5 separate regions of the Homo sapiens genome follow, and regions 2, 3, 4 and 5 are each linked to region 1. The links are contacts of gene promoters, found by promoter capture Hi-C in blood cells and fetal thymus (Javierre and others, 2016). All regions are on one chromosome and are shown on one strand. Each heading gives the region's core, a stretch centred on a gene start or on the middle of the fragment in contact. The rest is flanking DNA. Distances are from core to core; before and after follow the strand shown. Region 1 holds the start of SAMTOR (S-adenosylmethionine sensor upstream of mTORC1). Region 2 holds the start of CBLL1 (Cbl proto-oncogene like 1). Region 3 overlaps DLD (dihydrolipoamide dehydrogenase). Region 4 holds the start of HBP1 (HMG-box transcription factor 1). Region 5 overlaps DUS4L-BCAP29 (DUS4L-BCAP29 readthrough).

Evidence for each region. Contacts are between HindIII fragments. The CHiCAGO score rates a contact against its expected background, and 5 or more counts as called.
Region 2: the fragment with the promoter of CBLL1 here is called in contact with the fragment with the promoter of SAMTOR in region 1 in 3 of 17 cell types (total CD8 T cells, fetal thymus and naive CD8 T cells); the score reaches 11.0 in total CD8 T cells.
Region 3: a contact is called between a fragment that was not itself captured here and the fragment with the promoter of SAMTOR in region 1, in 3 of 17 cell types (fetal thymus, total CD4 T cells and activated CD4 T cells). The highest score is 7.2, in fetal thymus.
Region 4: a fragment that was not itself captured here is called in contact with the fragment with the promoter of SAMTOR in region 1 in 2 of 17 cell types (fetal thymus and naive CD8 T cells); the score reaches 5.6 in fetal thymus.
Region 5: a fragment that was not itself captured here is called in contact with the fragment with the promoter of SAMTOR in region 1 in 1 of 17 cell types (fetal thymus); the score reaches 5.2 in fetal thymus.

What each region holds. Positions count from the first base shown.
Region 1 is chr7:112,938,158-112,942,442 of GRCh38, reverse strand. SAMTOR (S-adenosylmethionine sensor upstream of mTORC1) reads left to right here and starts at 2,568. Exons shown (of 5, transcript NM_152556.3): 1 at 2,568-2,852. The coding sequence starts at 2,693. RefSeq lists enhancers at 2,100-2,439, 2,094-2,610 and a silencer at 2,640-2,739. The HindIII fragment of the contact is 2,363 bases long and covers 1,454-3,816 here.
Region 2 is chr7:107,742,720-107,747,146 of GRCh38, reverse strand. It overlaps CBLL1 (Cbl proto-oncogene like 1), which reads right to left and starts at 3,005. Exons shown (of 6, transcript NM_024814.4): 1 at 2,971-3,005. The coding sequence starts at 2,983. CBLL1-AS1 (CBLL1 antisense RNA 1) reads left to right here and starts at 2,566. Exons shown (of 2, transcript NR_144537.1): 1 at 2,566-2,774; 2 at 3,744-4,394. RefSeq lists enhancers at 2,531-2,710, 3,061-3,280, 3,378-3,896, 3,897-4,416 and a silencer at 3,321-3,520. The HindIII fragment of the contact is 5,122 bases long and covers 1-4,214 here.
Region 3 is chr7:107,893,042-107,897,574 of GRCh38, reverse strand. It overlaps DLD (dihydrolipoamide dehydrogenase), which reads right to left. Exons shown (of 14, transcript NM_000108.5): 2 at 4,297-4,375. Among named protein-coding and RNA genes, the nearest start is that of DLD, 4.1 kb to the right of the region's middle. The HindIII fragment of the contact is 544 bases long and covers 2,753-3,296 here.
Region 4 is chr7:107,164,891-107,169,383 of GRCh38, reverse strand. HBP1 (HMG-box transcription factor 1) reads right to left here and starts at 381. Exons shown (of 11, transcript NM_012257.4): 1 at 199-381. RefSeq lists silencers at 162-261, 280-853 and an enhancer at 572-731. The HindIII fragment of the contact is 837 bases long and covers 853-1,689 here.
Region 5 is chr7:107,567,387-107,571,455 of GRCh38, reverse strand. DUS4L-BCAP29 (DUS4L-BCAP29 readthrough) reads right to left here. Exons shown (of 13, transcript NR_163941.2): 4 at 190-311. DUS4L (dihydrouridine synthase 4 like) reads right to left here. Exons shown (of 8, transcript NM_181581.3): 4 at 190-311. Among named protein-coding and RNA genes, the nearest start is that of DUS4L-BCAP29, 5.4 kb to the right of the region's middle. The HindIII fragment of the contact is 4,339 bases long and covers 87-4,069 here.

The DNA.
Region 1 (4,285 bases), core at 1,319-3,818:
CCACTGCACTCCAGCCTGGGCAACAAGAGTGAAACTCCATCTCAAAATAAAATAAAATAAAATAAAATAAAATAAAATAAAATAAATCTTATTTTTATTTTTAAAATAAAATCTTTATTTTATAATAAAAAATTTAAAATTTTTTAAATGAAAATTTTAAATAAAACATTTTTTAAATAAAAAATTTAAAGAAAATAAAAAGATTTCATTTTCTTTAAAATAAAATCTGGCTGTCCAATTGTTATTTCTTCGGTTGCTTTTCAAGAAAGTGTGAAGTCAAAAAGTAATTTTAAAAGGTAGGACTCTTCAATCTGCTTGAACAACAACAACTAGATAGTCTTAAATAAGTTCCTTTTATTTATTCTTACGTTGGTATTTTAAGTTAAATATTATACCAATAAGAATAGCTAGTTACGAAACAGCAGGAAATTCCACATATTTATTTAAAAAATAGACATGTTTTTAAAATCTCATTAATGACTTTGTAAATTGTAATACCTACCTTTGGTAAGGGTGCAATGAAATAAACACCCATAGGTACTAGTGGACATGGCATAAACTGCTACTATCTTTCAGAAAAGGCAATTTCATAATATACATCAAAACCCTAACATGTTTGACCCTTTGCTTCAGAAATTGAACTTTTAGGAATTTAGCCTGATGGAATGTATAATTAAAGAAATGGACAAATACTTGTGTGCAAATGTGTTTGTCATGACATTATCTGTAATACAAAAAAGCTGGAAAAAACATAAATCTACAATAACTGGGAATTGGTTAATGAAATAGTAGGCTATTCATACAATAGATTGCCACATAGGCATCAAGAAATATCCTATTTGAAATTAGTATATACAAACAAAGAAAAAATGTTAAGTTGTTATCTCTCAGTCCAGATGTCTTATTTTCTTTACTCTTTTCTGTATTTTCCAAATTTCCTTCAGTGAACATCTTCAGTTAAGAGGCCTTAAAAGTTCATTTGCTAGTATTATGCTGAAAAGTTCTTTTTTAAAAAATAAAACTACAGTTCAGCACAAGTGAAATTTAATGCTCTTTTTACTATCATTGTATCTTTCGAATATCTGCACCATTATTTGCCTTCCATATGTATTAAAATATGGAAAGAGCCAAAAGAGACATGTAATTCAAGCTCCCCTTTCTTCCCAAATGAAATTCCCCCAAATAAGACCACCATATTTTCAATTTATTAGGCACTTCCGCTTAACTTCTCTTCATAATTATAAGGAGTTCTTTTGAAGTTTATATGTCCTTGTCTTTGTGTTTGATCTGTCTCTTCACTGTGCTGTAGGGACACATCTTCCGCCTTTAAATTCCATCAATCTCCCTTCACCTCCCGCTTCTCCTGTGTCCTAGACAGTGTGTATAATTCTTTGCTCTTCAGCGTATTCAATATAAAGAAGGTAGCATATAAAACAGTTACATAATGCAAGCTTTATTCGTAGTTAGAAAATCATTATCAAAATGTTACCATTGCAATCATTTCCATAGACTGTCACGTAACCAACACCTGCAATGGGGAAGTGGTACACAATCCAACACAACTCATTAGGGGCTCTCAGTCTATTCAATCTCTGACACTCCAGCAGCCTCAGTACCACTTCAGGAGCCAATGCAGTCTACCTCTCTCCAGAGAGCAGTGTTCCACCTTTCTGGGACAGAAGTCAACAATCGCGTTCCCCAAGAGATGGAAAAGAAGTGGAGGAGGGTGAACAGGTTACCAAACCCACTTAGATACACTCCGCATAGACTAACTCTCCAAATTAAAGGACAGGAGGTCACCTGAGCTGACCATAAAAGCTCAGAGTGCTGATGCGAATAAGATCAGGGAAGGCTGCTTATTAACACCGTGGTCACTACAAAAGTTCTTGAGGGCATCTGCTGTGAGTTTTCCATCGTTCCTTATTGTCCTCCTGCATCTCCTGTTGCTTTTCTTGGCCCTCTCCTTTTCGCATTTTCTATGTCCTTTGCCCAGCAGTAGTACTGCAGGCATAAACCATTGTCGACCTGAGAATTAAATTAGCATTTGGTAGCCAGACCTCTCCTTGAGCCTTAGAATGCTTGTGTGCTTGAGGTCCCTGAAGTGTAACGTCATCTCAAAGCGCAAGTAACTAAAGGGAACCTACATGTGACAAGGTGCAGCGGAGGTTCAAGCAGAGCACCCTGGCCGCATCGCAACAGATTATAAAGTGTAGGGGATGAAAATGATGGAAGACATCAGAAAGCCGAGCTGTAAAAAAGCCCAAACTAAGCAAACTGAGACGCGCAAGCGCGTTGCTCACAGCTCGTCTCCCGAGGCCGAGCCACAGCGCCTGCGCACAGAATCCGGGGAGGGTGGGGAAGAGATGAGCACCCAGGCCTGGAGCTCCCACTGCCTCAGCCTCCCTATCCCCGCAAGCTCCGCCTCCTCCAGCTGCTCGCCTTCCCAAACAACCGGGTTCGCCGCCGGCGCTTTCTGCCCATTGGCCCTTAGCCTTTTCCGTTTCCGCCCAGCCCTCAAAATCCACCAATCAGTTTGCACTTTTGGGTGAGGGTCCACCTCCAAGGCTGTCGCTCCGGTTCCTCTGCCTCCTCTGGCTGCTGCCTCCGCAGCTCCCTCCTCCTACCCCACCTCCTCCATCTGGGGAGCGTCTGCGGGGGCCTGAGGGGCGGCGGCGGCGGCGGCGGCTGCGATATGGAGCCAGGGGCCGGCGGCCGAAATACTGCTCGTGCGCAGAGGGCCGGGTCCCCGAACACTCCGCCGCCCCGGGAGCAGGAGCGGAAACTGGAGCAGGAGAAGCTCTCCGGTGTGGTGAAGAGCGTCCACCGGCGGCTCCGCAAGAAGTACCGAGAAGGTAAACAGCGCGCTGAGTGAGGGAGGAAGGGGAGGCCTCATCACCCCCAACCGCTTGTCACCTCTTCCCTCCTCCAAAGAGGCCACCATTAAAATGTAAAGGATCTGCACGTCCCCCCAGCCGCTGCTGCTCTCCCGGGCCTGGTCTGAGCCCCCTAGTCGGCATCAGACGCGCTCCTCCCCGCCCCCTTTTCTTTGAGGGCCCTTCGGGAGAGTTCTAGGCCTGTAAAGGAATTGAGTCCCCACCCCCTCCAAGCCCCTGTCCCCAGCCGGGGTGCTGAGGTTGTTGTCTCGGCACACACAAACACATACACGCTCACAGAGGAGGTGGGGGTCGCTTTTTGCAAGAGACGCCGAGGTAAAACAAGACAGGTAAAATCCATTTGTAAAAGACGAAAAGAAACCTGAGTTGTCCCTCCTTTACGCTTGACCTACCGGCTGTACCATTTGCTTCCTTATCAGACCCCCTTCCTAGTACTTCATTCCTACAACCATGCCGAGCCTTCCTCGCATTGGCTTCCAGGGCTGGGAAGCCAGCAGGCCTTTTAGCTGACTGGACTTCACATTGTTAAAAGGGGGCGGGCTACACTCGTGGCCCCCACTCCCATTTCTTAAATACTTGGTCTTAACTGTTTATTTAGGCGATGAGGAAGAGATCTGGGCAGGTTCTGAAAATACCGTTTGTATTGGAAGCCTCCTAAAGACACCTGCCGATAAAGCCCACCCTCGGCTTCCATGGATGGGGTTCCGGTGAGAACCCCCTCTGTGGAAGCTCATAGGGGAAGAAGCCTTAGTGGCTTTTGCCTGTGCCTGAAGAGTGTTTATAGTTGGAGTCTACAGTTATCCTTGATATCTTTAAATATAGGCTTTTGTACACAGCTGTTTTATAAGATTTTGACAGTGAAAATTCTGTTTTCATAGGCTTGGGAGAGAGACTTCTCCTGAGTATCGAAATGAGGAAAGCTTTCCACTGGTTCTCATTTTAGCTTAATTGCAAACTGAAAAGTCAGCAGCCTTCTGGTGTTAGTCCTATACTTAGTTAATAATTTAGGATTAGAAGGAAAATTATGGCAGTGAAGGAATACAGACAGGTAAGATCATGTTACTGTTGATTTATACACACGTTTCAACTACTCTAGAAAGTTAAAACTAAGTATCCTTTGTTCTTTTGAATGTAGTTGATATGTTTCATTTTTCAAACTTTAAAGGTTTCTTTCCTTAGCAAATCAAGCTTAGCTTTTAATAGAGGCTGTTTAATCATCCCCAAATGGGGCTTGTAGTTATTGTTTAACAGATAGCAATAGAAAGAGTCTTATCAGACCTACTTAGGATGGTAAAATATGTTTTTTGAAAGAATGCTACCCAAACCCACAATTTAGTCAATAAAATGAGTAGTTACCATAGCAACAACTGCATCATTCTTGATATTCAAAG
Region 2 (4,427 bases), core at 1,756-4,255, 5.2 Mb after region 1:
TTCTTTGGGACTTTTTTGCTTTTTGTTGTTTTTAAATTAAGAATCAGAGCATAAAGCACTATTTCCTTTTGAATACAGTAACAAATTATAAAGTCCTTAACAACAAAAATTTCTTAGATATTACATAGAAAGTGACTAAGGACTACTGGCCACTTCAGATAAATTCACTTTAAAAAGGCACAACACTTCCATATCATATAGTTTAAAAAAGATTGGGGATTTTTTATCTTGAATAAAAAGAACCAATAAATATTTTACAAAATCTGGGATCTTTTACAAAATCTGGGATACAGTTACAGAAGTGCTAATTCTTAGAATGACCAAAGAATAAATCCAGTGTTAATGGGGAGCCCCTTGGAGTAATTTTTCTGGCAAGATTCTATTAGAACACCTTCATTTTCACATTTGAATGTTTCGGTATGATCATAAAATGGGTCATTTTTGCATAATGTTCAAGGGTTTCATCTGTTTCCCCAAGGACCTCTTAATCCTTTAATATTACAATTATTCTTTTGAGATGCCTATCCTGTCATGATTCTTCAATTATCTAGCTAAGTGGCATTTCCTCATTTGTCAAAGCCTTTGTGATTTAAACAATTATCAAATTCATGTTTACGAATTTCATGAAAACCAGAATCTTCTACAAGGTTTATAATTTTATTTCACAATCAGTGCACAGTATTTGATACTGTCTTCTGATACTAAACATCAAAGAGATTGATTCATTTAAAAAAAATAAAATAGGTAAGAAGCTAGTGTTAAGCAGAAGGGACATCTGAGAGGGAACTAATTTTTTAAGTGGTCAGCTCATTCGTGAGTATTTTCATGTTAAGATGAGTTTTACTTCCTTAGGCAATCTCTAAACTTCAAGAATTAAGATAATAAACACTCTTTACACTCACCCCTATTATGATTTCCTAACATAATAGCCTCTAAACTATGGCAGGAACTTGACTCATAATTCCAGTAGTGGGCTCAAATAAGAATTACTTTCCTAAAGTTGAATGTTTGCTATTCTAACATCAAAATCCCAGTTTCAACTCTATAAATTCCCAAACACTGGAATTCTTTACAGCCTCGTTCTAGGCCGGCTTCTCCTCTGAACACACCCTTCTTAAGTGGTCTCATCTGTCCTCATGCTTTAAAATACCAGCTATAAATAAAGGTACTAACTTCCAAATACGTATTTTCAGTGCAGATCTTTCCTCTCATCTCCACTTGGCATCTCTCCTGTGTCTCAGTAGTTATCTCACACTAGCAGTCCAAGACCAAACACTTGTTCCCAAATTCCCGTCTCACCTCTACAAAAAAAGATTGTTTTCTGCCCCAAGTTTTCCTCAGCTCAATAATGGACCCTACCTAGTTGCTCAAACCAAAAGCCTAGGCATTTCTCCTTTCTCTCACATTCCTTCAAACACCACCAGAGTATTTACTGAAGCTGCCCATTCTCCTTCATTTTCACCAAACCAACCTTCCCTTCCCGTCTACTGCAATCAGCTATTTTCCATCATTCTTACCTCCCTCTCTTACACCATTCTTCATAGAACAGCCTATTGTATTTTTTAAGAGACTGTGTTCCTCCTCCACTTCTGTTCAATGGCTTCATATTCACTTAAATTAAAATTCAAACGTTTACCACGGCTTTCAATGACCTGAATGATGTGCCTGCTGCCCTCCTTTCCAATCTCACTTCAGGACTCCTACCCTCTGGCTATTAGGAGGCTGCAGCTGACTTCACTGTATCTTCCTACCTCAGTGCCTTCGCACTTGCTGGAAATGCTCTTCCTCTTGCTTTTTTCCCAGGGCTGGGTTCTTCTCATCCATCAGATCTTAGCTTCCACAAAGACCATTCCTAACAACCCTCTCTGAAATTTCGTCCTATGAATCTCTCCACAGCACTCGTTTATTTTCTTCAAAATAATCCGCAAACATTAAAAAAATAATAAATTTAAAAAAAAAGAACGTATTGTCTGTGTTCCTCCATAAAACAGAAGTTCTATCACGGACCTGGTCCGTCTCGTTTACCATTCCATCTTCCATCTCCCGACCTATAGATATCTGCATGTATCTTGCATAAATAAACATACACACCTACATAAATAAACATACACACCTAATTATATAACCAAGTAGATATCTGATGAGTGAGGACAACTCAATACTCAAGAAAAAGCCTTTTTTTCTCTATTTGTGATACGGTCGCTATAAATGTATGGGGCACATAACTCCAAGAGCACTCATTCAATATCCAAGAACCACAAAGAAGCAAAAGCCAGAAAATACATAACAAAGGGTGGAGCCACTCTTACTTGGAGAAAAGTATGAGAATGCCTTGATTTTAAACTCCTCTTTGTAAATACCCTCAAATGATGAGTAAGGACCTCAGCCGAAGCGCGGGGCATGCTTTTGGTTTAGGTAGAAAAACTGCTCCGAGTTTGATTCCAAAAACTCTATCAGACTCCCTTCTTTCACCCCTCTAGTCCATAAAGGATCGGAGAGACGACAGGGGGTGACCACTGCAGCACCCGCCCAAAGCTGACTGAGACAGCAGGAAGTCTCCAACCCATTCTCGCCCGTCCACTCCCAGCGTAAAGAGGATTCCGCGACTCGGAGACCGCAATCTACCCGCCAGTCTCCATAACGTAGGCCAGAGCAGCTGGGCTAAATAAAACAGAGCCGGGGCTCTCCCTTCCCGAAGGCCTACATCGCCCACTGGTCCGGGCTCGGAGCTCAGCAGAACCAGAGTAGGAGCGGTTGTTGCCGGCACGGAGGAGGTAGGTACCACACCAGACGGTAGGCCAGGAAACCGCAGGCCCCTGCCGGGCACAGGAAGGCATCTGTGAGATTTCTTCTCACTGCCACACCCTAGTGTTGTGGGGCGAGCATAATCCCTTTTGCCTGCTGTGCGACCAGCCCCAGGCCGGCCAAGGGGGCTTGGAACCGGGACCCCCACTGCCTCCGCCTCCTTACCAGTGTGATCCATGATTCGGCTCGCAGAGCACAGTGGGAGCGGAAGTCAACCGCGCCGGAGTCGCAGCGAGCGCGTGCGCACTGCCTTCCGGAGGCCGGGAGGCGGAAGTCCAAGCAGGTTGTCCCAATTTTGGCCTGCAAAGACTTCCTTCTCTCGCCTCTACTATCCAACTCCTGTGAGGGACTCAGGCATAGTTCGGGCGGAGGCAGAAAGAGCGAGCGCGCGAAGAACTTCGGTATTGAGGTTGCTAAGGCTTCTCCTCATGTGCTTCAAGAGAAAGTAGCCTTTAACTGTGGAAAGGACACCAGGGGGACCGGGGAAGGGGAGAGCAGTGGTAAAAATGAGCCAGAAGCAGATAAGGCGACTGCCCGCCCCGCGGAGAGCTGCCTTCTGGGACTTGTAGTGCGCGGGGCCCCCGGAGCCGGCTGGCTGCGCAGGCTCGGCCGTTGCGCTGGCCCCACCCCGGCGGGCGGAGTAACGGTTTGGAATCCCCCGGGGTCAGCGAGCGCTTGTTTCCTCCGCCTGGTGTAGCAAAAGTGTAAACACGCGCGCTCCGGAAGGCGCCCTCCAGTGGGAGGTTGCTCAGGGGATGGCGGAGCTGTGAAACTCGGAGCTAGAAGGAAAGTCTCAACGCTTGTCTAAATTTTGCTTTGTCGTGACGAGCTACCTAGACCCACGCAGAGCTAACTTGGTATATGCCCCGGTTCCCATCTCTTAAGTCTCTTTACAGTTGAAACACGTTTATAATGCTTGACTGCCACTCACTTTCTAGGGAGAGCGCTTGTGACGCTACGAACCTCTCGAACACCTGACGACTGGGCGCCAGGGCCGGATGGAGGGTGGAGAGCCAGTGCGGCGCAGCTGCCTCCTCTTAACGGGGACACCTTGCAGGAATGTGCGGAGTGGAGCTAACGGGAGCGGATAGAAACCGAGGGAGGGGAAGAGAGCGCGAAGGCTTGGCCGGAAGGAGAGGTTAAAAAGGAAAGGCCTAAAATGAGGAAGAGAGTTACCACAACAAGCAGTACCTAGTTCCAGTTCTTGGTCCCAGGAGTTTGTGGTTGTTGCTGCTTTCATCTTCCTCAGCCAACACAAAAGGAAAGTGCCAAGGGGCGATTCCTAGGACCTTCAGTGCAGTCTCCACCTTGCGGACTTGGCTCATTTGTGTCCACTCCTTTCTCCAGCCTTTTACACTTGATGCTCTTGGATGAATAGAAAGGAGCACAATTAATGGAAAACACAAGCTTGGGAGTCAAGGGATTTGGGTTCTATTCTTGTCCTCCCTTGGTGACGACATCATTACCTTGGGTTATTCAAGCTTTCAGTGCCAGAGTTCCTATATCAATAAAAGATTATTACATTGACCTCTTAGAGAAATGTTTTCATGGTACTGAATTGCAAATAAAGTATGTGTAGCGATGTGTTATATCTTTGTAGTTGTACGGTATTATTTGTGAAT
Region 3 (4,533 bases), core at 1,775-4,274, 5.0 Mb after region 1:
GTCAGTCTACAATAATACCTACCACTTGGGTAGCTTAAAATGTGCCAGTTAGTGAGCCAGTCACGTGTACTGTCTTATGTAAGCCTCATTACATTTCTATGACATAGTTTAATACTACCATTAACAGAGGAAGAAAAGGTTGAAAACAACTAAATAATTTGCATAAGGCTACACAACTAGTAAGTAATCTAGCCAGGATTCAAACAAGGTCCTCTAGATTCTGAAATGTGTGCTCCTATATACCATTATGTTCTATTGCCTTCCAAAACACTCAGATGATCCCATAATCTCCAGGACAATCAAGAACTTCAACTAAAATGACAAGAATATGCTTTACAGAATGAAATCAAATATTTATGACTCATCAGTACCTTCAATAACCTTAAAACACAGTGAGAAAAAAGAGGCACATGTCAAAATAAAGGTAAAATCAGATTTTTGGCCAGGCGCGGTGGCTCATGCCTGTAATTCCAACACTTTGGGAGGCCGAGGTGGGTGGATCCCCTGAGGTCAGGAGTTCGAGACCAGCATGGCCAACATGGTGAAACCCCATCTCTACTAAAAATACAAAAATTAGCCGGGCTGGTGGCAGGCACCTGTAATCCCAGCTACTCGGGAGGCTGAGGCAGGAGAATCACTTGAACCCGGGAGGTGGAGTTGCAGTGAGCCAAGATCACGCCACTGCACTCCAGCCTAGGGGACAAGAGCGAGACTTTGTCTCAAAAAAAAAAACAAACAAAAACAAAACCAGATTTTTAAAAAGAAAAAACGAACAGGAAAAGAGATGTCATAAGGCAATAATCATTAATTACCAAATTTACTGAATGTAAGAACTACTTGATAAGGTTTATTTGTTGACATTTTGTTGAGGGGTAAGGGAAGTTGTTTTTACATTGTCAATGGCCTTAATATCCAGTCTTTTTCAGTAACCTCCTCCCATAGTTAACACTCTATACTTGTTATCACCCAAAACTGTTCAGCCTCTGAAATCAATACTCTACTTTCTAGTCATAACCTCCTGGTCCCTAAAGAAGAAATATAGTAAAATAAGAAATGATCTGAAGTAAAACAGACCTGGGTTCCAAACTCTAACCCCGTTAAGTTCTTGGGCAAATTACTCAATCTCTCTGGGCTTTGATACAACATGGGGGTAATAGTAAGGATGACACCTGCAGCCTAGGGTTGTGAGGATCAGAGAGTACGCATGTTAAGATCCTAAGGAGGTGCTAGGTGCATACTAGCAACTCAGTGTCACTCCCCTTCTCAGATCCACCTCCAAACTTCAGTCCAGCAGCCTCTAGCCTCATTCACATCCTCCATTTTAGCCTACCCAGTGCTACCGCAAAGCTAAAACCCAACTCAGATGTTATTCTCTCTGTTGTTACGCTCTGTTGGTTCTCCAGTGTCTTGTTAGATAAAGCCCATGTTCCTAAGTACAGCATCCAAATTCCTTCAGTAACTATTTCTCCAGCCTCATCTCCTACCACGTTCTGTTTACTCACCAATACCATGCAGTTTAAGCTTCAGTAACGGTGAATTACTACTCTTAGCCTACATGCATAGAATTATGCTGGTCTACCTATGTACGATCTGTTCCATCTACCTAGAAATAAACACTAACAGCAGGCATTTCACATTACAAACACTACTTTAGGCTCTTGGAGGGGTGTGTCTGCACATGCTGTGTCTGTGTGTGTGTATATATAAATGACATAGCCCTATTTCTTACAGTCTAAATAAAAAAAAGAATTACAGTAAAAGGTCCAACCTGTAACGAGAGTTACTCTCAACCTTTTTAGCTATCAACATAATTCCTTAGGAAAGAATTATGTGACCATTCCCAATCCATATATAGATGTCATTACTCCCTATGCTTAAGTCTATGGACCCCTGTCACAATTATATGTTGGATGTTTGTCTCCCTCAACTGAATTGTAAGCTCTATAAAAGCTGGGTCTTGTCCGTCTTGCTCACTGCGGTACTCCAGTAGTTAGCCCAATGACTAACACATAGTAGATATTAGTATTTGTCGAAATAATAAAAGAATGAATGAATGTAGTGAATGTGAGTGATATAAGTGCTGTAAGTTTAAGTGTTACAAGTTTGATTAAGTGCTGTCATGAAATAAAACGTCACATCAACAGTAACACACACAACTTTGCAAATTCTGATGAACCTGGTTCATAAGGCTATTCAGACATCTCTCAGATGTTGTAACCAAGACTATATCATAATAAGATTTGAACTCCTCAGGAGAGTCAATCAATACTCATGTAAGGAAGAAAACTCAATAAAACATTAACAGTGTAGGCTCTGAAGTCAAAAGGATTCTCCCAGCTCTGTCATTTCCTAGTTAAAAAACCTAACTCTTCCATCTATAAAATGGGGAGAACAGCAGCACACAGGTAGTAGAAAGGCCATGAGGATTAAATCTGTGCCTGAGACAGAGTGAAGCCCTCAATGCATCAGTTAATATTATTGCTGTTGTAGCTGGTTACTTACTTTGTACAAGACACCATACTGGATGCTTTGCCACAGAGCAGTAATTAAAACAGACCAGGCCCCAGTGTTCATTCATTCAATAAATATGTACTGATTACCTACTGTATCACTTTAGATACTAAACAAAACAGTCACACACAGTCCCTGTCCTGATGAAGTTTGCATTCCTGAGGAAAAGACAGTAAGCATGTACCTCAGATAAAATACAAGTATGTGTGTAAAATGCTTGTTACTGCATCCACTCAAAGCTTTTACACACTTTACACACATGGGTACTAAGTGATTTATGATTTACTCAATGTCAAGGGATCACCAAACTGATTATGGAACACTCAGCCTCATTCCACTAAAATCTAAGTTCTGGCTCAGGGTCTGCCTGGCAAATAGAAGGCACTGAATAATCTCTGCTGAGTGATGCCAAAGGTATAGAGTTAGCCATGAAAAATATCCTTTAGAAATGAAAATCTAACATTTCTCCTGTTATATGAGTTGAGAAGAATGAGATTCCTATTTAACAAGAGACAAAGTGTATAAGAGGTCCAACTTTTCCCTTCATCATCATATTAGCATTTTTTTAAAAGGATTTCTTGACCTGTTCAAAGCTAGAATAAATCACTCACTCACTGTTAGTCATGGGTTACTAGAATCCTCCCCCTACCCTTCCTCTAGAAATAAAATATCCAAAATGATAATGGTTGGATAACAGTTGAGGATACAGGATTAAATTACTTCACAGAATGCAGGGAGACTGATAGTCACAGTTTGCCCAGATAATGATTTCTATAACTGAAGCTTTAAGACATCCAATGTTACTTATAATCCATATGGGTGAATTCAGTAAATGTCAAAACAGTACATTGCAAATAATCAATATCCTTGGTACTGACAGGTCAAAATACTTCAATATAATCCTATTAACTTTCTGTTTTAAATACTTAAAAAAATAAAATGCATATCCTTTATGGGAACTTCAAAAATATAAAAAAAGTACACAGGAGAAAATTCCATGACCCATAGCTTCCTTTTAGATCCTGCTAATCTTTAAAACATGCTTTTGATAAACCCATGAAGACTTTCATTCAGGATGTCAAGAAAGTCATCTCATCATTCTAAACAGTGTTAAAATAACCAATACAACCTTACTCAACGGACAAAATTAACTTTTTAAATGTAAACATATGAAATTGCTGCCCTGCTCAAAACCTTTGTTTCCCATCATACTTGGAGTATAATCCAAACTACTAGACCTGCCTTACAAGGCACTCCATGATCTGTCTCCTGCCTACCTCTCCGACTTTACATTGCATGGGTTTCTGCTCCAGTCATACCAGCCTTCTTATTACTCCTTAAACTTCACAAGCTAAGTCCCACCTCAGGCCTTTCTCAGTGTTGTTTCCCTCTGCCTGAAGTAACCTCACTCCCCCACTTCACTCAGGACCCTGCCCAGACATCATCTCCTCAGAAAGGCCTTTCCTGACACTGTATCTAAAATTATCTCTCTTCCTCCCTATTACCTGCTTTAATTTTCAGTTACTTCCCAAAATATTTATCCATTACTTATATATTGTTTGTCTTTTATCACCAAATTACAAGTTTCATAAGAGCAGGGTTTTTTTACCTTGTTCACCGCCTGGAACACACTAGCTCAATATACATTCAAACGAATAAATACATGAACAAATGAACTATAAGACACTTAACATAAGTTATTCCAATATTCACTTGCTTTTACATTGAAATAGAAAGGAACTGTCAGCTAATGTGATGAAAAAAATGTTTTACTTAAGTACTTACTCGGCTGATCTGCGTAAGTTCTCAGAGGCACTGCAGAAAGTCCCTGTAGGCCATGAGATATTCGATTGAAATGGCCTCTCTAGAAAAAGAAAATGTCCCTATTATGTAAGATATGAATTCAAAACATAGAACTACTGAAGGTTGATGATAACAGAACAATTTTGGGCAAACGTATCAAGCGAGGATTATTAGTGTATCTTCTTCCATTGCCACACAGAAGCTACAGATCAATATCCC
Region 4 (4,493 bases), core at 22-2,521, 5.8 Mb after region 1:
GCCCAGGTGAGCTCGCGGGAGACGCTGCTCCGGTGGGCTCGCCGCGGGCACCAATCGAACGGTTAACTGCCCCCACCCCAAGGGCAACCCTCCGAGAAGAAGGAACGAGGACCCGAGCCCTCCAGTCTGCCCAATCCCCCGCGCTCCTGCCCCTCCCTTCCCCACCCCCACCTCTTCCCTAACTGAAAGACAACAAACCTGCCGCGAAGTGCCGGCAGCCCAGGCGCGGGCCGCTCCGGCCACGACAACACCACCAGCAGCTCTCGTACCCCCTCTCCGACCGACGTCGGCCTCCCCCGCGCGGGTTACTGCTCCCGCGGCAGCTCTTACTCCTCAACCGAAACTTTCCTACTTACCAAACCCGTCGCCATTACCAAGTCTTTCAAGCTTCGTCTTCCCCCTCCCCTCAACCCCCTGGGGGTTGAGCCCCGCCCAGCTCTTTCGCCCTCTTATTGGACTGCAGAACTGCCATTCGGTTCTTCCCCTTTCCCATTGGGTGGTACCGTGGTCCGTCTCGGGGGGCGGGCATGTATTGACTTTTGTGTTGTGTTTACTGGAGAAGATGGCATGTCAATCACAAGAGTAAGTGCTTCGGATTGGACTATTGCCGAGAGTCCGGGGACCCAAGCCAAACTTTGTCCCCGAAATGGATTGTGGGTTCGTAGTCTCAAGCCTTGGTCCTTGGCTGTGGGAGACTGCTGGCCGGGGAAGAGCTGGACTACGTATCCCAGAGGCGCTCGCACAGCGCAGTCTTGATAGTAAACAAGAGTCATAGGGACACGTGTATCAGCTCGTTTGTTTTGGTGTCTGGGACAAAAGGGAGGGGGCGGAGGAAGGGAGTGTTTTAAAGCTTGGGCCTCTTCTTTTCCTCCGGGCCTCTGCTAACACTTAGAGCGGCCCAAGCCTCTTGCAGCACCCAATCCGGGCCATAAACAGCCAGAGTTGCTCGCTGCTCAAGAGTTTGGCAGGAGGCCAGGGTATTGTTTTAGTGCGAGGGGAAGGAGATGACTGCACCAGCGGAAGTACTGCAGGCTAGCGAGGGACTTGATCACCCACAAATCACGGCCCCAGGCACGAAGGGGTCGAAAGTGATGCTGGGGGCTGCACTGGCAGTGGGAAGAACTAGAAGTCCTTTCTCTTGTGCCTTGCCTCACCACTCCCAGGACAGCAACTTGAGATTGCCTTGTCAGCTCTGTTCAGTTCACCTAAGTTTGTTGAGCCGCCACCTAAGTGCCAGGAAGAGTGAGGCTGGGGGATGGACTGTGAGCAAGCGAGAAGCTGGAGTCTAGAGAATTTACAAAGCGGGGGCGGGGGCGGGCGATTACGAAATTGAGGCAAGTTAAAGCGGCATTTTCCATACTGATTAGTATGCTCGTTGGTTAACGTAATACAAAGGGTGTAATGTATGACGTAAACTGATTTAATTTGTGAATCATTATCAGTAAGTTTCTCTGGTGAGTTTTATTAACCCTCTTTTCCTTCTAGACGTTTTCTCATTGATGAAAGAAACTGTCTTTCCACTTCATTTCCACTAGGAGTTCCTCAAGTTACGAATTCTCTGACTCACCAGAGACGCTTCCCTGCTTTATAGTTAACTTCTCTTTAAACATGGCTGTCCATTCACAGTCGGCTGCATCTAGTCAATAATTGGTGTCTTTACCATTCACATTACAAAGGCATGATTAAGCTTTTTCCCCCCTTTGAACCTTTAGTGTTTAATCATTTAAATTGTGCTTTAGATTTTCTAACTTTAGATCACTAAATATATGCTTAGAATTAAGATGAGGAAAACCTACATTAGTAAGAAATCTGTAAAAGCAAACCTTTGGACAGAGCCAGAAATCACACAGCTAGTTATTTCTTTAAAACCTCCTGCATTTCTTGGATTTTTAAATATACCTGAAAGCCGCGTAACAAATCAAGAAATCCAAAATAAGCCCCCACATGTTGAAATCGAGTTTAAAATTCTTGAGAATTCCCCATTTGAATCCGTGAAGTGAAATTATAAAGTAGTCCTCCCGTGTAATCAAATACTTACTTTCTATGTTCACAAATAGTAATAAAGCATTCTATTTTTTATTAAAATAATTCAGAGGAGAGCCAACAGAATGCTTAATTTTTTCCCTGAGGAAAAAGGACAGGATTTGAATTTATCATCTTTCAGAAATTATTAGTGACTCAAAGAAATGAATGTCTCTGCTACTTTGTGTATGCTTTTTTTTTTTTTTTTTTTTTTTACAATGGAGGGTCATCGTGTACTAGAATAGAAAATATAAACTCTACTCCAACATGTAATTTCTTGACAAAAAAGAAAAATCTGTGAAGTTCACCTAATTATTTAAAATTGTTTTGAGATATTTATGTCTAACTCCTCCTAGAAAACTAAAAAACTTTTCTCTTAAAAAAAAAAAAAAAAAAGAGCTGGCAAGAGATTGACATACTGCTTTACCCCTCTCCAGTACACAAACTGTGAGATCTGCTTTCAGCTAAACCTTGTTTTTAAAAGTTAAACTATTTTAAAGTTTTTACCAAATGCCTTAGTGGTGATTTTTTTTATCGGGGGACACCGGAAATGGGGAAAAAAAATTCAACTTTAGATCCAGATATTGTACAATATGTTACAAATAATAATTTATCCTTTAATAGCTCCATAAAGCCTTTTCCATTCATTCAGAAACGTTTAGTTCCATTTTTTGACCACTGTGCCAATTATTGAGAATAAAAAGATAGAAAACATTTTTTGCACACTTTTTCTCATTTTTATCCAAGTCTTTAATATGAGTTAAATTTAGATAGTTTAGTCACAACTGATTAAATACTAGTATTAGAATTCGCTACACCTTTAAGTGGACACTTAGTCCAATCTTCTGACTTCCGTGGGGGGCTAAATGACCACATTAGTAGCTTATGTGTATTTACCAGAGACATCATCATTAATTGAGTGACCAATAAAACTAGCCAACTTATAAGCCAGAACAAAGATCAAAGTACAAAACTAGTAAGATCTCCTTGGAAATTTTTACATGTGCTAATTATACTCTCAGACTAAAACAGATATAACTACAGTTTTTAACTATCTTTCAGATGTTTCCATGATAAAATTGAAGTTAAAAAATCAGTTACTTTAAATAACACCTCTTCTTGATTGGTACAGTCACCATATCTATACACACATATACACACATAAAATGTATGCAAAAAAATGTCAAGAAATTGTCAAATCAAAATGTCTTTCCAGCGGTTTGTAAAGTTACCTCTGTTATCTTAAATATCAAGTTCTAATTTGTTAGAGATAGTAAAAAACGAACAGAAGAAAAACAAAAAACCGGTAAATCCTATTTAGGAGTGAAATAATGTGTTTCCCTGATTCCACCATATTTGACACACCAATGACTGCTTTGCTTAACTACAGAGAAGTTCAAGTACATGCATTGCCTGATATTGAAAATAATCACTTTGAATTGTCAAAAGGTAAACAAATGAAATCACATGAACAAGTACTAAATGGAGAAATTGAACACATGTATGGTCTAAGTACTTCTCAAAGTTTTCAGACAGCATCTTGAATGTTTAAACTCCAACAAATATCCTTCCATATACCTTACTATCCTTTCAAATGAGTTAATTTTCTAATTAGTTCAAAGTACTCAGGTAATTCAGTCAAGTTGTAATGAAATCCACAGGAGCTAATGATGGCCATTGTAGAAGTGAGTCATCTGTCTCCTGTTCCTGTAGTTCTTGATGCAACTGAAGTTTAGATTTTGCTCCGATGACCAGAAAGCAAGACCTTTCTTCAGTGGCTGATAAGCTAATGTCTTAACACTATAACCACATTAGGAAGAAAAATCAACGTAAAAGGGAAGAATCAAAATGATTGTGTCTCCAGCTTGGGTAATTGCAGTATGTTGGGGAAGGGTGGTTATGTTGATGTTATTGACTGAGGGAATGCTGGAGAGGATAGCAGATTTGGGGACTGGGAGGAAGGGAAAGGATAGGTTCAACCTCGGGTGATAAGCATGCTGTGCAGGAAGAAATTTGAGTCCAGAGGTCCTTGGGCAGCTGAATATATTCATCTGGCATTTAGGAAGTCCAAGTCTGGAGAAATAAACCTGGGTATCCTCAGGACATAGAGAGGAGTACTCATTTTTTTATCCCAATTTTTCCCAAAAAGTTTTTGTCAAGTCTAATTTGGTATAAATGAAAATGTATTTAGAGAAGGCAACAATTCTATTTCATCTCACTCTCGATGTTTAAAATCAAGCTCAAATGACTATTCTCATGTCCTGCAAGTTTTCTAGAGATCATTACTGTTATCTGAACTATTTAACACAAACTCTCACATAGTATTTTCTACTCCCGTCTATTTGGTATCCTAGGACCTTCTCTATGTTTAGTTGCTAGCAAAAAGTACCTCATTTTAAGTGCAATTAAGTCAGATAAAGAGCAATTAAAATTGTAGGAATAGGGCGGGGCACGGTGGCTCACGCCTGTAA
Region 5 (4,069 bases), core at 1,007-3,506, 5.4 Mb after region 1:
ACTTTGGTATATACACTGATAGTTTGCAAGGCATTCAGTAATAACATGTAAAAAATACTTATTAAAAACACTAAAGAACTAAAGCTTCTTCACATAAAATCTCTAAATTGTGTTGTTTCTGATAAGATAGTTGAGTTTGTAAACAAATTTAAAAAGTTTTACAAAGTCAGTACACTCGGTTTCACATACCTTGATTTGTGGTAAATTCGCTGTCTCTGGCTTTTATAGATTTGACAAAATCAGCGGCAACAATCATTGGTGTGTAACACAGATCACAACTATATTTTCTTACTAGTGTCCTAAAAGCCAACCTGTGAGCATATAAAACCTTAATTATGCATTTAGAAACACCACAAACATATTTTAGTGCATTGTTAAATATTTATCAGAGAAAGTTCTACCTATGGGGAGATGGAGGAGATTTACTTTTCCCTATTATTCCTGTTAAGTATTACTAAAAACCTTGGATATTATATATAAAACAAACACAAGAAAATTTTGAAAGGTGAAGAAAAGATGTCCAGATAGGCTAGTGACCTCAGGACCTGAGGAATGACAGGGTGGTGAGTTCTCTGGGTTTTATTTTTGTCTCAAATATCCTAGACTTGAAGAAGCTGGCCACCTGGAAACAACAATGGATGCAGACAAAACCAGCCCCAACAAAAGCCTTCTCTAACCAAAGGACCAGGAAAATGTTCTGTCTGACCTAGTAAGACAGAAAACTTTTAGACAGTTCTACTCCAGCCAAATACTGTAGAAAAAGCTATGGCTTTATCTCCATTAGCAAAGGCCAAGTGGGAATCCTAGACTTCTACCCTCCAAAGGCTGTAACAAGGTGCTCCAACATTCTATTGATACCAAGGCCAGGTAAGGATCTGAAACTTTCATCTCTGGTGGCCACTGAGGTCACTCCCAGCCCAGTGGTATCAGTGGAGGCCACAAGGGGAGCCTGGACTTCCATGCCTGCCAGCAGTAATGAAGCACTCTTCTCCCTCCCTGCTTGGTGTGGTGTCAGAGGAGGCATAGTGGAGAGCCAGGACTTTCATTATTGCCCAGCACATATGAGGCTACCCTCACTATGGGGAACTGGAACTCTCATCACTGCCCCGCAGTAATGAGGAGCTCCTCACCCACCAGATGTCGAAGGAGGCCAAGTGGAGAACTTGGATTTCTATCAGATAGCAATGAGGTGGCACCACTCCCCTACATCATTCCCTGCTGGAGTGTTGTCAGAAAAAGCCGGTTAAAACAGAAGGTGCAATAGTCAAAATCAATTAATGTAATCCATCATATTAACAGGCTAAATAATAAAAATCACATGATCATATAGATGCAGAAAAGGCATTTGACAAAATACACTCATACATAGTTAAAAAAAAAAAAAGCTAACTCTTGGAAAACCAGAAGTAGAGGGAACCTGCCTCAGTTTGATAAAGTATATCCACAAAATTCCTACAGAACACTTTTGCCTTAGGAACAAGGTAAGGAAGTCTGCTCTTATCACCCTTATTCAACACGGCGCTGAAACTTCTAGTCAGTGCAATAAGGCATGATAAAGAAACAAAAGGCATATGATCAAAAGGAAGAAATCCAACTGTCCTTATTTGTAGATGACATGGTTGTTCATATAGACTCTGAAGGAATTTACAAAAAAACTAGAACCAACAAGTGAGTTTAGCAAGTTTTCAGGATATAAGATCAACATACAAAAATCTATTTCTATGTGCTAGCAATAAACATGTGAACACCAAAAATTAAAAATTCTATTTACAAACATGCTCAAAACCTGGGTGTCTTACAAAACATGTGCAGAACTTGTATGCTGAAAACTACACAATACTGATGATAGAAATCAAAGAAAATCTCAATCAATGGAAAGATATACTGTGTTCATGGATTGGGAGACTCAACCTAGTAAGAAAGTCAGTTCTTCCCAAGTTGAGGTATAGGTTTCACACAGTTCTTATGAAAATTCCAGCAGGGTTTTTTGCAGAGATAGACAAGGTCATTCTAAAATTTATTTGTAAAGCAAGGGAACTAGAATAGCTAAAACAATTTTGAAAAAGTAAATAAATTGGGAAGAACCAGTCTACCTGATTTCAAGACATATTATAGAGCTATATAGTAAAACTGTGTGGTATTGGTGGGGAAAAAGATACAAGATCAATGGAACAAAACAGAAAATGCTGATTTCTCACAAAGAAGCAAAGAATTAGCGGAGAGATAGCCTTTCTTTTTTTATTATTATTTTTGAGACGGAGTTTTACTCTTGTTGCCCAGGCTGGAGTGCAGTGGTGCGATCTTGGCTCACTGCAACCTTCACCTCCCAGGTTCAAGCGATTTTCCTGCCTCAGCCTCCCAGCAGCTGGGACTATTGGCATGCGCCACCACGCTGACTAATTTTTGTATTTTTAGTAGAGATGGGGTTTCACCATGTTGGCCAGGCTGGTCTCGAACTCCTGACCTCAAATGATCTGCCCACCTCGGCCTCCCAAAGTGCTGGGATTAGGATTTGATGGCGTGAGCCACTGTGCCTGGCTGATAGCCTTTCAAAAATGATGCTGGAGTAATTGGACATCCATAGGCAACCTAACCTAAGCCTCACACTTACATAAAAGTTAATGCAAAATTGATCATGGACTTAAATGCAAAACATAAAACTATAAAACTTTTAGGGAAAAAAACTTAGGAGAAAATATTCAGGATCTGGAGCTACATAAAGGTTTCTTATACTTGACATCGAAAGCACAATTTACAAAAGGAAAAATTGATGTTAGACTTCATTAAAATGAAACTTTTGTTCTGCAAAAGATCCTGTTAGGAGCATGAAAGACAAGCCATATACAGGGAGAAAATACGTGCAAATCACACATCTGACAAAGCAGAATATATATCTAGAGTATAATAGAAAACAAGAAAACAAACAAATGGACAAAAGCACTTGAATAGATACTTCTACAAAGACAACATACAAATGGCCAATAAACACACAAAAAGATGTTCAGCATCATTAATCATTAGGGAAATGCAAATTAAAACTGCAATGAGATACCACTTCACACCCATTAGGATGATTATAATAATAAAATAAAAACTCCCAGAACATAACAAGTGTTGATGAGGATGTGGAGAAATTAAAACTCTTGTTCACTGCTGGTGGTAAGGTAACATGGTGCAGCTGCTATGGAAAGCAGTACAGTAGTTGCTCAAAAAATTAAACATAGAATCACCATATGATCCAGCAATTCTACATCTGGGTACATAGTCAAAAAGAATTGAAAGCAGGGTCTCAGAGACCTGTTACGAACCATGGGTATTTGTATATGGGTATTTGTACACCCATAGTTCATGACAGTATTATTTGCAGTAGCCAAAAGGTGGAAGTTATCTTGTGTTCTATCAATATATGAATGGATATCAACAGATGAATGAACAAAATATACATAAAATGGAATATTATTCAGCCTTAAAAAGGAACAAGTCTGATATATGCTACAACATGAATGAACCTTGAGGATGTTATGCTGCATAAAATATTAGCAAAATAAATCCAGTTCTGAACAAATACGTATAAGACTTATATGAGGTACCTAGAGTAGTGAAGTTCATAGAGGGAGAAAGTAGAATAATGGTTGCCAGGGGCTGCTGTGAGGAACAGTGGAATGGGGAGTCACAGTTTAATGTGATAGAATTTCCATCTTCTAAGATGAAAAGAGTTTTAGAGATCAGATGCACAACAATGTGAATGTAATTAACACTGCTGAACTGTATACTTAAAAATGATCGAGAGGTAAATTTTATGTTACGTATATTTTATAACAAACTTCTAAAAAAACTCAATAGTAAAAGAGCAAACAATCCAATTAGAAGATGAGCAAAAGATACGAAGAAATATTTCTTCGAAAACTGAACACACAACTACCTTAGGACCCATAATTGCACTCCTATTTGTCCCAAGACTTAAGTTCACATAAAAATCTATACATCAATACTTATATCTATTTAATATCCATTATATACTTATAGGTAGGAGTTACAACCACCACCATTTTTATAGATATAAAAAGTG